Regions from separate parts of the Homo sapiens genome. Here region 1 is linked to region 2. Evidence: promoter capture Hi-C in human tissues and cell types (Jung and others, 2019). All regions are on one chromosome and are shown on one strand. The core of a region is centred on a gene start or on the middle of the fragment in contact, and the rest is flanking DNA. Distances in the headings are between cores, read along the strand shown.

What was found. Contacts are between HindIII fragments. The study calls those that stand out against the background at their distance.
Region 1: a contact is called between a fragment that was not itself captured here and the fragment with the promoter of ANGPTL4 in region 2, in 3 of the 25 tissues and cell types used here (dorsolateral prefrontal cortex, heart right ventricle and spleen).

Annotation. Positions count from the first base shown.
Region 1 is chr19:8,506,561-8,509,260 of GRCh38, reverse strand. No RefSeq gene overlaps it. Among named protein-coding and RNA genes, the nearest start is that of PRAM1, 5.3 kb to the right of the region's middle. RefSeq lists an enhancer at 2,330-2,700. The HindIII fragment of the contact is 8,917 bases long and covers 1-2,700 here.
Region 2 is chr19:8,362,811-8,365,510 of GRCh38, reverse strand. It overlaps ANGPTL4 (angiopoietin like 4), which reads right to left and starts at 1,356. Exons shown (of 7, transcript NM_139314.3): 1 at 872-1,356. The coding sequence starts at 1,189. RefSeq lists an enhancer at 1,690-1,739. The HindIII fragment of the contact is 14,542 bases long and covers 1-2,700 here.

The DNA.
Region 1 (2,700 bases), core at 77-2,576, 140 kb before region 2:
CCAGCCTGGGTGATAGAGTGAAACTCTGTCTTAAAAAAAAAAAAAAAAAAAAATAGCCGTGGTGGCTACCTGGGAGGCTGAGGCAGGAGGATCACGAGCACAGCAGTTCAAGGCTGCAGTGAGCCATCATCACACCATTGCAACCCCAGCCTGGGAGACAAAAAAAGAAAAAATCCCAGGAGCTTCGGGGACAGGCTGGAAGGCTGGTCCTGAGAAAGTGCAGGGACTGGCCAGGATGGCCTGAAGACCCCCAGACCCTGAACCCCATACTGACTTAAGGGGAAGAATCCTTTGGGATTGGGGAGGCAGGCTGGGGACTCAGGTCTTCATCCTCCTTGCTGTCTGCCAGACCAATTTCCACCATGTCCCAGCTCTGAGGAGTGGGGTGGGTCAAGGCCAGCCCTCCATGGCCTGGTCTTTCTCCTCACCCCTGAAGCCAGCCTCCCAGGTATGGAAGTCCCAGGTGATATCCACAGCCATCCCTTGGAAGCTGGTTTTACCTCCATGATCCCTCTCCCTTCTATCCTCATCTCGCCAGCCCCAGGGTCCCCTAGCCCACCCCCTACTCTCCCCAACCTGCCCTTACCCCAAGACTGAAAACAGAAAACAGTCTCTTCTTCCTCTTTTTATTTTATTTATTTTTTTTTTTTTGGAGACAGAGTCTCGCCGGAGTGCAATGGCAGTGCCAGGCTGGAGTGCAATGGTACACTCTCAGCTCTCACTGCAACCTCCGCCTTCTGGGTTCACATGATTCTCCTGCCTCAGCCTCCAAGTAGCTGGGATTACAGGCGCCTGCCACCACCCCGGCTAACTTTTTGTATTTTTAGTAGCGATGAGGTTTCAACATGTTGGTCAGGCTGGTCTCGAACTCCTGACCTCAGGTGATCGACCCACCTTGGCCTCCCAAAGTACTGGGATTACAAGTGTGAGCCACCACGCCCTGCCAGGGTCTCTTCTGATTGTTCCCCTCTCCTGCCCGGCACCCTTCAGTGGCTTCCCATGGCCCTCTGGATGAAGATCCTGTTCTCCCAGTAGCCCACAAGGCCCTACCTTGAACCTCTCGGTCCCCTCCCAGAACAACACTCACTGTCTCCCTCATCCTCCTGGATATACAGACATCCTGTGAGCAAGAACCCAGGGACCTCCTTCACGCAGTCCACCTTGTCTCAATCCTTACCTCCTCCTCCTTTCTCCATTCTCTGAATCCACTTCGGGGTTCCCCCTCACCTCCTCATCCTGGTATCTGCAGCCGAGACACCAGTAACCCCTGGGCGGGGCCCCCAGACCCCACTCCTCCGTCACTGCCCTCCCACCTTCTCCTTGCCCCCCGCCACCCTCCTTGTTGTCTTCCTCAGATTTTTTTTTTTTTTTTTTTTTTGGAAGATGGAGTCTCGCACTGTCACCCAGGCTGGAGTGCAGTGGCACCATCTCAGCTCACTGCAGCCTCCGCCTCCCAGGTTCACACCATTCTCCTGCCTGAGCCTCCCAAGTAGCTGGGATTACAGGTGCCCTCCACCATGCCTGGCTAATTTTTTGTATTTTTAGTAGAGATGGGGTTTCAGCATGTTGGCGAGGCTGGTCTCGAACTCTTGACCTCATGATCCGCCCGCCTCGGCCTCCCAAAGTGCTGGGATTACAGGCGTGATCCACCGCACCTATCTTCCTTGGACTTTTCATCCACCAACGTGTCCACCTCAGGCTCTGAGTCAAAGCCATCCAGGTAGACAAGCCAAGGGCCACCTGCCCCACACCTGCTCAGTGCCATGTCACCTCAAAGATGGACAGCTCTGGGCTCCAGAAGCCCTTCAGCCACTGCAAGGGGCAGGAGGGGATCCTCAGGCCCTTGGGACCCGTCTGTCTGCCCCACTGCCCACCGCCTCACCAGGGGCCTGAAGACTGCTCTGTCCTTGATGGGGCTGTGATGTGACGGGGCAGCAGCCTCAGCTGACGTGGCTTGGGCTGGGTGTCCACTCTCCCAGAACCTGTAGGCCCCAGCTGAGGTGGTTGTCAGGATGGGGTAGGACAGGCCATCAGGAGGCCCCCTAAGCTCCCCCTTCTCAGCCAGAAGCCTTGAAACCACCACTGTGGGACCCTGGAAAAGAGTCGACTTCCCTGCCTCCCAATTCCCTCGTCCTTAAAAGGGTGTCATGATGACTGGTGAGTCCTTTGGGGTGGACGCGAGGATGAAAAGAGAGGCTGCAGGGAGAGGAGGGGCTTGGGAAATGTCTGCTGAGAACTTCACGTCCCGAGCCCATGGCTGCCTGGGACTCTCTCGACCTGGGGAGGAGGGTGGGACAGGGTGAAGGGGCCCATTTTACAGATATATAGAGAAGGTGAGGCTAGGAGGCCTCTAGCCAGCCCCAGTTCCCAGTCAGCGGCACTGATTCTGCACCATCTTGGGAGCTGCGCACGGTTACCACGAGAAGAGAAAACCCTGCCAGCAGGTCCAGAGGACACGCCCCTGTTCCCGCATTCTGCAGGTCCCTAGATCTGGCTGTAGTCCAAGCCTCTCCCCCATCTCCAGGGACAGCGCTGTGTTCTCTGTCCCCCAGGCCCCTAACCCCTCTCCAGGGTCCCGGGGGCCCCCAGGAGTCTTTGTCCCCATCAGTTTCTTTATTCGGCCACCCCCAGATCTAGGCCACGCCTCTTCCCAGTCTGTCAGTATCTTTCCAGAGAAACCTAGAGCCAACACGTCCGTCC
Region 2 (2,700 bases), core at 107-2,606:
GTATTTTATTTTATTTATTATTATTATTATTTTGAGATGGAGTCGAGCTCTGTCGCCCAGGCTGGAGTGCAATGGCATGATCCCGGCTCACTGCAACCTCCGCCTCCCGGGTTCAAGAGGTTCTCCTGCCTCAGCCTCCCCAGTAGCTGGGATTACAGGCGCCCACCACCACACCCAGCTAATTTTTGTATTTTTAGTAGAGACGGGGTTTCACTGTGTTGGTCAGGCTGGTCTTGAACTCCTGACCTCAGGTGATCCACTGGCCTCGCCCTCCCAAAGTGCTGGGACTACAAGCGTGAGTCACCGCACCTGGCTTTATTTTTATTTTATCGCTATTATTTTTTTGAGGAGTCTCACTCTGTTGCCCAGGCTGGAGTGCAGTGCTGCGATCTCGGCTCACTGCAACCTCTGCCTCCCGGGTTCAAGAGATTCTCCTGCCTCAGCCTCCCAAGTAGCTGGGATTACAGGCATGCACACCATGCCAGGCTAATTTTTTGTATTTTTAGTAGAGACGAGGTTTCTCCATGTTGGCCAGGCTAGTCTCGACAGCAGGTGGAGGCTCCGTGAGCCACTGCGCCCGGTCGTTTTTTAATTTTATATTTATTTTATTTTATTTTATTTATTTTGTGTGTGTGTGTGTGTGTGTGTAGAAGAGACGGGGGTCTCGCTATTTTGCTTTAGGTGGTCTTGAATTCCTGGCCTTGAGCGAACCTCCCTCCTCGGCTTCCTAAGGGGGGAGCCCATCCCTTGACGCAGGGAAGCCCAGGGAGCCACAGTTGCGCACCCCGCCCCCACGCCCCACTCCTGTCCATACCCTTCCAAGCCAGGAGAGCCACTAGGGGCGCGGAGAACCAGCCCTGGGGACACGTACCTGCAGGCTGTGAAGGACCTCAGGGTCCACCCGGCTCTCAGGGGCTAACGGGAGGTCGGTGGACCCCTCGGTTCCCTGACAGGCGGACCCGCACGCGCTCAGGCGCCGCTCCAGCGCGCTCAGCTGACTGCGGGTGCGCTCCGCGTGTTCGCGCAGCCCCTGGCCGAGCTGCAGGAGTCCGTGCGCCAGGACATTCATCTCGTCCCAGGACGCAAAGCGCGGCGACTTGGACTGCACGGGTCCGCCCTGAGCGCTCAGTAGCACGGCGGTGGCGGCGCAGAGCATCAGGGCTGCCCCGGCCGTCGGAGCACCGCTCATCCTCTTAGGTAGCCTGGGAGCGGGGATTCGGGGACTCTCGGGGACGTTGGGGTTCCAGGTGCGAGGACTGGAGACGCGGAGGACCGGGGGTAAGACCCGCTTGGTTGCAGAAGCCGCTGGAAAGAATCGGATCACAGTCGTGTGAGGATCCGCTCAGCTCGGCTTCTCCCCGCCGCGCCCGAGGACGGTTTTTATAAGTTGGGTGCGGAGTGGGCGGAGGAGTCTTGGAGGCGGGGTGCGGGGAGTGCTGGGGGCAGGGCCTGTGGCCGGGGGTGGGGTCCTGTCCTCTGGAGGCCTGGTAGTCTGCGGGCTGGGGGATGCCCTGGGGATGCCAAACTGTGGCTCTCCCGCCCCCGCTCCAGGCTCAGGCAGGCCTTCCTCTACGAACCGTGGGAGACGTGACTCTTCTTTCCCCCACGGTGCCCGCCTCTAGTGTGAAATTGCAAGCCCCCTATTCCGCCCCCGCCTTACCCAGTGGCGGAGAGGGCGCACGCTTGAGGTCAAGACTTCCAGACCAGCCCGGCCAACATCGTGAAACCCAGTCTCTACTAAAAATACAAAAAAAAATTAGCCGGGCTTGGTAGTGCGCGCCTGTAGTCCCAGCTACTCGGGAGGCTGAGGCAGTAGAATCGCTTGAACCCGGGAGGTGGAGGTTGCAGTGCGCCGAGATGGCGCCATTGCGCTCCAGCCTGGGCGACAGAGCCAGAGTACGTCTCAAAATGAAAGAAGAGAAAAGAAAAGAAAAGAAAGAAAAGAGAGAGAAAGAAGGAAAGAAGGAAGGAAGGACGGAAAAAGAAAAGAGAGAGAGGTAGGGAGGGAGGGAAGAAGGAGAGAGAGAGAGAAAAGAGAGAGAGAAAGGAAAGAGAGAAAGAGGAAGGAAGGAAGGAGGGAAAGAAAGGAAGAAGGAAAGAAAGGAAGGAAAAGAAAAAGAGCTGAGTTCAGCGGAGCCCGGAACTCACCAAAAGTCCTTGCCTTGCGGAGGCTTCGTGTGACCTCCATCCCAAGACCAGGAGAGACTTTTCTGGGCTCGCATGTTCCTTCCCGTGAAAGGGTTCGTCATCGCAGCTGTGTTTATGAGATTCTTTGACTTCCATTTCTCCCCTGAGCCCGAAATTATGAGTGCCTTAGCGGCAGGACTTGGATCAGGGCCTCACCCCCATAGCCTACCCTCTACCGCCAGGGTCTTTAATGTCCTGAGCTTTGCCTATAATAAAGCAGGAACTTAGAGAACAGAAAGAGGAGACACAAGGAAGGGAGGAACCAGGGCGGTCGCCCATGACTGTGGTCGCAGCTACTTGGGAGCCTGAGGTGGGAGGCTCACTTGAGCCCAGGAGGTAGAGGCTGCAGTGAGCCACAATGGTGCCACTGCACTCCAGCCTGGGCAACAGAGTGAGATCCTGTCTCTAAAAAAGAAATAAAATAAAAGTCTGTGGCCAGGCGCGGTGGCTCACGCCTGTAATCCCAGCACTTTGGGAGGCCGGGTGGTGGGAGGGGGGGGGGGGCGGATCACC